Regions from separate parts of the Homo sapiens genome. Here all the other regions are linked to region 2. The links are contacts of gene promoters, found by promoter capture Hi-C in human tissues and cell types (Jung and others, 2019). All regions are on one chromosome and are shown on one strand. Each heading gives the region's core, a stretch centred on a gene start or on the middle of the fragment in contact. The rest is flanking DNA. Distances are from core to core; before and after follow the strand shown. Region 1 overlaps ICA1 (islet cell autoantigen 1). Region 2 holds the start of RPA3 (replication protein A3). Region 3 has its middle 140 kb from the start of GLCCI1.

What was found. Contacts are between HindIII fragments. The study calls those that stand out against the background at their distance.
Region 1: a contact is called between a fragment that was not itself captured here and the fragment with the promoter of RPA3 in region 2, in 1 of the 25 tissues and cell types used here (H1 embryonic stem cells).
Region 3: a fragment that was not itself captured here is called in contact with the fragment with the promoter of RPA3 in region 2 in 1 of the 25 tissues and cell types used here (spleen).

What each region holds. Positions count from the first base shown.
Region 1 is chr7:8,147,558-8,150,671 of GRCh38, forward strand. All of the region lies in intron 8 of ICA1 (islet cell autoantigen 1), which reads right to left. Among named protein-coding and RNA genes, the nearest start is that of ICA1, 110 kb to the right of the region's middle. The HindIII fragment of the contact is 5,968 bases long and covers 1-3,114 here.
Region 2 is chr7:7,716,842-7,719,955 of GRCh38, forward strand. RPA3 (replication protein A3) reads right to left here and starts at 1,766. Exons shown (of 8, transcript NM_002947.5): 1 at 1,674-1,766. All of the region lies in intron 2 of UMAD1 (UBAP1-MVB12-associated (UMA) domain containing 1), which reads left to right. The HindIII fragment of the contact is 4,791 bases long and covers 1-3,036 here.
Region 3 is chr7:8,109,252-8,112,389 of GRCh38, forward strand. No RefSeq gene overlaps it. Among named protein-coding and RNA genes, the nearest start is that of GLCCI1, 140 kb to the left of the region's middle. The HindIII fragment of the contact is 4,002 bases long and covers 1-3,138 here.

The DNA of each region.
Region 1 (3,114 bases), core at 270-2,769, 430 kb after region 2:
CTAGAGCTCCTTAGCTAGGAAATTCAAAGGCTCAGGGGAGTAATTTGAAAAGGTTTATAAAACCACAAGCAAAATTGATACTGAGCACATGGACTTGTTTATTAAATATTAGAATTTTGAGCCAAGGGGAACACACACACACACACACACACACACACACACACACACACACAAGCTTAACTGAGCTATAATTCAAATACCATAGAATTCACCTAACTGTTCAATGGTTTGCAGTACACAGTAAGTAGGTCCTTGAATAATGTCATTTTGTTATAATGTTGATGAGAAAAAAAAATGGATTTCCTGGCTCGGGGCCACTGTCAGGGTGGAGTTTGCACATTCTGCCCATGTCTGAATGGGTTTTCTCCTGGCTCCACTCCAGTTTCCTCCCATATCCCAAAGCTACACAAGTCAGGTGAATGTGCGATTCTACATGGTCCCAGTGTGAATGACCGTGGGGGTGTGTGTCGGTGCGACCTGCTACGGGGTGGCATCCTGTCTAGGACTGGTTCCCATCCTGTGTCCTGAGCTGCTGGGATAGGCTCCCACCATCCACCACCCTGAACTGGAATAAGCAGTTTGGAAAATGAACAAATGAATAAATAAAATTTATCATAAAAAATCCTTCAAGTATATAATCATACAGAAGCATGACAATAAACGCTGTGACAGAAAAGCACCCGGTGAGCCCACGGTATTTGTGATTGTGATTGAACTGCCTGGTGGCAGGCGGTGTCTTAGAATTTTTGCTTCACCAACGCTTATTCCTTAATTTAACCCACTACTGTTCTGACTCCCTGTCACTCACTGATCCACCAAGAATTGGGTAAAGAATTACCTTACCTTTTTTTTTAAACTTTTCTAAATGTACATATAACTTAGATTTATTTCAGTGTTAAATATTAGAAGTGTTTTGGGTCTTTATTTAGAAGCTTGGTGATGTTTTTGTGACCATAAATTGTTACATCGTAAGAACTTAACTCTTGATTGTATAATCAGCCTATGGTAAAATGGATTTCATTATACATTGTTTTGCTTAAAGTCACAGTTTCCCAAGAACAAACTGATGACAGTGAGGACATACTGTATTCACAGAGTGGGACGACCATCACCATAATCAATTTCAGGACATTTTCAAGGGACATCACCAAGACAGAATTTGTAGACCAAACGAAGCTAAATACTCTTTGATATAGCAAGGAAAAAAACAATAACACATATGGAACTTGTTTCTTACAAAAGATGGTATACATTGAAGATATAAAGGGGCTAAGGGGAACATTAAAAGATCATGGAGGAAAAAATCATAACCCCCTTTATCCCCCCAAATTAGTTCCTGGGTGTGACTGTCAGATACAGGATATTCTCTAGACTGCTCTCCCCGACGTTGGATCACAAACGCTCAACTCGGGGTAGAAGGTGCAGGTGAATTCTTCAAATTATTTTGAAGTCCACGACTCCATTGAAGTGCTTAACCCTATAGAACGCATAGAAGTCAGGGGTGACAATATTTTCTGTGTGACAGGAACACCTGCTCAGGCAAAATGAATCTAAGAGGCCTCTCTGACTATGTATAGACGAGGCAGCCATCAGATGAACCATTATTTCCAATTACCAGCTGATGGGAGCCACATACGAATCCACGTCCAGAAATGAAAACTCCAAAAACGTTCTGTTTCTAAACCCCAAACCCACTCAGTCTCTCATTAAAATTGCTCATGAAAATTGCTGTGTATTAGCAGCACACAGAGTCATACAAGACTGAAAGTTTCTTTGTGGAGGAAAGAATGTTTTTAGACTAAGAAACTTTTCTCTGTTAAGGCTGCACTAACATGCTAATGATTTCCATCCATGCTTAAATGGTTTCAGGAAGCACACACACAGTAGTATGTAAGATCAGCGTGACAGAGGAAACTCGCAGATCGAGCTTGCAAAAGTGTCTTAGAAAGGAAACAGCTTAATATAATAATGGGAGTTACCACTTCCTGTATTAGGAAAATAAAAGCAACAGCAACATTCATCTGAATGAATGCAAAACTACTTAGCAAAACAAATTTCACAGACACAAGGCCAGCAGCCAGTTCTAATAACCTAAATTTAATGTTTAACTTTGACAACTGAGTAGTATCTTCTCTAGCCTTTAATTACGACATCTAATTTTCTTATGCTACTTTCCATTAATTATATTGTATACATATGAAGGTGCCAAGTAATTGTCTATAAAAAAAATAAAAGTGTTCAAAATAGTGGGGCATGTTTAAAAAGTGCTGAATTCAGTTGGGTATGTGTATGTGTGTGTTTATACAATTAGAAGTACATGAAAATAAAAACAGAGGCCACAGTGATGTGTACTGGCCACATAATTCATGGACATTTAGCACATACGTACTCTCTTGCTCTCACCGTACACTTACAAATTTATAAAGACACTATATAAGAAACACTATTACTCTGTAACTAGAGGTAGCCTTGAATTGTACTGTATAAAAAAGTAAAATTAGAGAAAAATAATCACAATCATAAACAAGATAGGTAATATTCTTCTTTAAAAATAAGATAGAAAATTGATAATGACAAGGCACCATACTGTCCTGGAAACAAATGGACTTTGGAGATGGATCACATAGTGCTGTGGCATGGACATGGTCTCCACTCCTTGGAGGTCTTGGTTTACCCATGAGAACAATGGAGGTAATGACGAGTATTCGTCTTGTGATGCTGTGAGGATGAACTGAGAGGGTGCTTCTACACAGTACCAAGCTCATACCAAACACTCAAAACTTGCTTTCTTATCAATGACTTTTAAAGTTCTAAAGGGAATTAGATGTCTTAAGTGCTCCTCCTGTGGCAGGTACTGTGCTCTATGTTTTCTGTATCTCACTTAATCCTCACAAAACCCAGTTAAACCTTGTATTCCTGCTTTCCTGACAGGAAAATGGAGACTTGGAGAGGTGAACTGACTTGCTTCAGGCCTTTCGGCTATTACCAGGTAGAAGCAATATTTGAATCCGGGTCTTAAAAATTCTACAACTAGTTAAGAAATGGTATTAAATACCCCAGCCAGCATGTAGTGACCTTCCCCTTCAATATGAGGCGTTTGGGAGATCGAGAGGA
Region 2 (3,114 bases), core at 516-3,015:
AGCCTGAGGCAGGAGAATGGCGTGAACCTGGGAGGCGGAGCATGCTATGTAAATGGCACACCTGGTCTGATCAATCTCTCGTGCCCTATGTAAATCAGACACCGCCTCCTATAAAACCAACCTCTTCTTGCCCTGAACCCGGAAACCCGTTCGGGACCCCTTCCTCTGCACGAGGGAGCTTTCCTCTTTCTTTTTCCTTTTTCTTTCTTTCTTTTTTTCTTTTTTTTTTTTTTGAGACGGAGTCTTGGTCTGTTGCCCAGGCTGGAGTGCAATGGCATGATCTTGGCTCACTGCAACCTCCGTCTCCCGGGTTCAAGCGATTCTCTCACCTCTGCCTCCCGCGTAGCTGGGACTACCGGTATGCGCCACCACGCCCAGCTAATTTTCGTATTTTTGGTAGAGACTGGGTTTCACCACGTTGGCCTGGCTGGTCTCGAACTCCTGACCCCAAGTGATCCGCCTGCCTCAGCATCCCAAAGTGCTGGAATTACAGGCATAAGCCACCTCGCCCAGCCTCCTGTTTCTTTCATCTATTAAAACTCCACTCTTAAACTCACTCCTTGTGTGTCCTCGTCCTTCAGTTTCTTTGGCGTGAGACGATAACCTCAGGTATTTACCTCAGACAACTCTGCTACTTCAGAAGTATTTACTTTATTAAATGAATATGATTTATTGTTTTGAAGTAAAATGTTTAAGGTATGCATGTATTTTTTATGATTTCCCACTTTAACTGATTTTTTTATTAAATGAAGAAATGGTCTCAATCACATTGGCTAACATGGCCTCTATTTATTTAATTCATCTGTTTTTCCCACTTTGGGGCATCAACAGCATGGAGTATTTGGAAAACTACTTGTATTTGTAAAGAGTAAAATGCAGTTTAACAAAGAAGTTAGTTTGTCATTGTATAGTTCAGGAACTCTGGCCTGGATGAGAGCATGAGTTTGAAATTTTGTCCTCAAGATTTTGTTTTTATCTTACCATCACCTTTTATGCTTAAGTTTATGATTGGCCATAATTATCAAATTGACACATTATGTCATGTGAAAATCTGTTTACCAAACTTTTCTATTAATAAACTTGATGTTTAATTGTAATATTAAGAGTCACAGAGTGCTGTAGATTCTGTTTGTCATAGTTGTGTAGCTTTTAGAGTTTAGGGAAATCTAGTTTTTAGAATTGACACAATGATTTTTAATTTTAGCAGTGTGTTGAATAACCTGTGATATACCATTCACTTATTAACTTCACATTGTTGTATAATAAGTTATAAATTTTAGATCAGATAAGAAAGTAAAACTGGTATTAATTTGGGAAGAAGAAATTGCAGAACTTGAGTGATTTTTCCAAATAATGTGTCAGCTGTAACTTGAATGTGTTATTTTTATCCCCAAGGGTATTTTGAAATATACTTATGTGAATTTCTTATAGTTTATTTTAACCATAAAACTATTTTGATATTTTTATAATGCCATCGATGATACTGTATGCATAGTGAGGGCATGGGTTGTCTGTTCTTACCACCATATTCCCAGCACTAGCATGGAACAAATGAATAAGAACGGAGTAAAAATGCATAATCTAAACTTGACTATGTGTGTCTTCAAAATAATACCTTTAAGTTATTTTGAAGGAAAAAACTATGTATCCAACAAATTCAAACAGATACTTACAAAATTAAGACGATTGTAAATGTGTGTTGTCCTCCTTCTCATTGTTTTTCACATCCAAAAATGTCCTCTTGGAGCCTCTTATCTGAGTAGCTTCTGTGGATCTGATGATGCTAGGATTTTATTTTTTCTTTTATTTTAAAGTTCTTCTGATTACATCATCTCTTTGTATAGACATCATTCTTGACAGATGGCATTTATTAAATATGGACAGTAGCAGGCAGTTAAAAAGACCTGCATGAGATAGGCAGGAACCTTTCTTTTTTCTTTCTGACTCTCAGAAGCAATACCAGCATTAGCTTTATTTAACTTCTAGATTAATTTAAAAAGAAACCTCTTTAAATTATGACTCAACAGGTACAGGGTGAAGTGGGGGAAATGTATGTGTGTTTTAAAGCTTCCCAAGTGATTTTGACCATCAGTTAAGTTTAGAAACCACTGATTACAATTAATTTCCTTAGAATTTGCTCATATATTTAATTCCAAAGAGGAAGAAAATTGAAATTTTAAAAAACATATGAGTATTTTTGGAGATGACATAACTTTCCTTTTATTGTGTTAAAAAAAGCTTTAAGAACTGTTTTTTTCTGCATTTTTATTAATTATCAAGATTTAGTGATGGTTTAGAGAGCTAAAAACACCTTTAGGGTGAATTCAGAAGATCTAGCAGATACAATGATGAAATATGATCAGCAAGCTTTAGGAGAGGATAACAAATGTGTGATTTTGAAATCTCTTCTATTTGAAACCAATCCAGAGTCTTGAATTTGATCCAGTATATAGTATGCTACAAATGGAAAGATTAAACTGGAGCAATATAATTAGGGTAAGCCATTGCATCTGCACTTGTATCGCAGCAACTGAATTTGAAACCAGCTGCAAAATGGTGACTAATCTCTCTGGCAAGCCCACATGAGAGTGTAGTACAATAAGCCAGCTTCAGCCTCATGAGCACATGTTTCTTCAACTTGCCTCTGAGCAGGTGATGGTGATGATGCAATCTGATTATACTTTTGAATGTATTCTAACCACAGTCAACAGTAGAGTCTCACAAGGGATTTCACAAAAGACTTCAAACCGACTGTATATTTTTCAGAGAGTTGAGCTATAGACAGCCATGGAAAGTAGTAGTTTTTTTTTTCACGTTAGTGACTACTGTACTTTGCAGTACTTTATAATCTTAAGTTTAGGAGGCTTTAGTTTTCATATGTGAACTGAAGATGAGAAGAATAATGTGGAAAGAAAGTACTTGTACTTGGAGCTTTTATTCTGAATTGTTCACAACAACTTACACTGATCAATTAAAATAATTAAATTGTCTAGACTATTTAATTCTGTACAAACAAGAGATGGTAAATCAGTGTACTGTGTTTAAGTGGTACACTAACCTTTCCATATTCAGAGAAGTACCTCCCTGGGTCTTGAACATTAAAGGTGTTTAATA
Region 3 (3,138 bases), core at 103-2,602, 390 kb after region 2:
ACAATGCTAAAGTCTTTGGGGACATCAACTCAATCCTTGTAATGACTCCAAGTGGCAGGAAATGTTACTATTCCTATTTTATGGATGAGAAAACAAGCTTGAGAGGGTATATGACTTAGAGCAGGCGGAGCCCAGTTGGCCACAGATTTGTCTGGCTTCAGAGCAAACTTACCAACTGTCCTAAATGCTTCTCCTGGATGCTATCCCCAAAGGATGTACTTAATAACTAACTTCTGAAAAATGAAAATAAAAGCAGTCATGAAGGACAGGAGTTTTCCCTGTTTTTGCATTTGAATTGCTTTCTACAACTTTTAATTTCTAGCAAACACTTAAGAAGCATTGGCCTGGGAGTCAGTCCTGGAAAACCAAGACTAGTAACCACAGGAATGTGATTACTCGTCTTGGGTTTCCTTAACTTTAAACCTAGTTCTCCACGTCCCTTTGGTCTCCTCAGTTTCTTCACATAGATATGAGCAGGTTGGAAGCAAAAAGCTCTAGGACTCCTTTTGTGATTCCATGAAGTCAGCAGGAAGGTCAGTATTCTCAATGGGCCACTAAGAGCTCCAAGCTTCCAGCCCCAGTGCCTGCTGGGGAGTGGCCTCATGGCACAGGTGGGAGGCGCCTAATAGGGGGGTTTTTGGAAACCACTGCAGTTCTTTAACAACCCTGTTTCATAGCCCTCTGGAAAGACTGGAAAAGCATTTCCTGAAAGTCCTCCACTGGAAACTAGAGTGGCTGTCTTGTATTTTCCTGCCTAACATCCATTTTTTTTTCTTTCTCTAGTAACAGCATCCCAATTCTGCCTTAAGGAACTTTCTCTATTCTTGGTCCTTGAGGGTGAGACTCCAGTGCCTGAAAAGCTGGGCACACAGCCCATTTCCCACCATGACTACTATGGTTTGAATATATCCCCCAAAGTTCATGTGTTGGAAATTTAATTGCCATTGCAACAGTATTAAGAGGTGAGGCTTTAAAGAGGTGATTAGTCCAAAAAGGAGAATCTCCACCCCTTTCCCAGAAAACTCATGAATAATCCACCCCTTGTTTAGCATATAATCAGGAAATAACTGTAAGTATACTCAGTCAAGCGGCCCATGCCACTACTCTGCCTATGACTCGAGTAGCCATTCCTTATTCCTTTACTTTCTTTTTTTTTTTTTTTCTTTTGAGATGCAGTTTTGCTCTTTCACCCAGACTGGAGTGCAGTGGAGCAATCATGGCTGACTGCAACCTGCGCCTCTCAGATTCAAGCAATTTTCCTGCCTTAGCCTCCTAAGTAGCTGGGATTACAGGTGCCCGCCACCACGCCCAACTAATTTCTTTTAGTAGAGACGGGATTTCACCACGTTGGCCAGGCTGGTCTCAAACTCCTGATCTCAGGTGATCTGCCCACCTCAGCCTCCCAAAGTGCTGGGATTACAGGCGTGAGCCACTGCGCCTGGCCTCCTTTACTTTATTAATAAACTTGTTCTCACTTTACTCTATGGACTCGCCCCAAATTCTTTCTTGTGCATGAGGTCCAAGAACCCTCTCTTGGGGTCTGGATCAGGACCCCTGCCTGGTAATAATAGCACCATGCATAAGTCCTGCCTACAGGCCCACCGACGCCTCGGGCCGCCTCTGAGTAGATCACGTCTTTTTGGGAAAAACCACTGACAAAAAGTGCTGGTTCGTCCTAAGTTGGTGCATTTCTAATTCTGAAGCTGACGGGTGCTTTTCTCACTTTCCCAGAGCTCAAAAATCAACTTGATATTTCTAAAATTACATTTTGAAGGAAATGAATCTATAAGGTACACCAAAAGCCCAAGCCAGCTGGGGAAAGAAGAAAGAAGGAAAAAGAATTTTCTCTGGCTCCCTCCCTTAAATTTGTATATTCTTTAAATCTTGGCTGGGGGACAGGGAAGGGAGCCTGGCAGACCACCCCACCTGGATTGGCAGGAAAGCTTTCCAGGAATAGGTGCTCTCTAAATCGCCCCAAAGGGTTCAGTGCAACTGTGATTCAGACCAGGCTCTCATCATGAAATGAAAATGAGGGACATGTGGGAGTGTACAGGAAGAGGGTACAGGAAGTGTACAGGAAGAGGGTAGCGTACCTTTGTCTTCTTCATACCAGGGCCAGTCCTTGGGTGGCTGAGGAGGGTCCGGGAGGTGCGTCCTGGAAGAAGCCCTTTGGCCCCGCAGGCACGCAGGCCACTTAAAAAGAGAATCAGGCAGCAGCTGCTGCTGTTTAAACTGAAAAGGTGGTCCACCGGCTTTGCATGAGCCCGGATCAAAACACGCATATCAAAAGGGATCAAGATGCTGGCCAAGTGGATTGCAGTTAGAAAAGGGAATTGAATCTTTTGTTTTTTTTAAGGTCAAGAAAATATGGAGAGAAAATGCCTCCATGTGCAATTCTTTCCTTGTCCTTGTAGTGAAGCTTGTCCAGCTACCACAATCCTCTCCCCTCCACCCAAAGAGCAACTTTTAAATGCCACCTGTTAGTATTTAAAGTAATCCATTCAAAATAGATGAACCCCACCCCCTTTGCTGTCCCACCCTTTCCCCCACCAAGCTCTCTGGGCCTCTAGCCTGGACGGAGCGAGTCAGTGCCTCGTCCCTCATCTTCTTACTGTGGTTGCAGGGTTTTCACAGCTGCAAATGTGACCCAGGATGAAACCAGGACTGAGTCCACATTCCATGAAGGGCAGCTTGACTCCCCCAATCATTAATCCATTGCTGACGAGGTGACTGCAGGGTGCTGACTGCCGGAGAGACAGAGATTTGGAGAAACAGGGAGACTGTTCTTTGGGGTCATAGCACCTAGTGGTAGAGGCAGATACATAAAGCACAGTCCTTGTGAGGCCAGGGCAAGCACCATCCTAGTGTCGCTGTATGAGATGGGAGAGAGGCAGGAAGGGAGGGCAGGAGCTGATGAAGTGTCACGGAGAGGTGAGGGCTGGTTCCTCACAGGAGACCTGGGGGATGCACTTGGAGAGGTCCTTGTGGAGCACGTCGGCTCTACAGAGGCTCTGGAAGGGTAGGTGGGGTTGTGATGGCATCCCAGCAGACGTGCACAGCAAACACACAGGCCCAGGGTGGGGAGCAGAGGCTGAGGGTACAGCAAGGCCTCCTGTGTGAGTGCGGGAAGGCTCACAA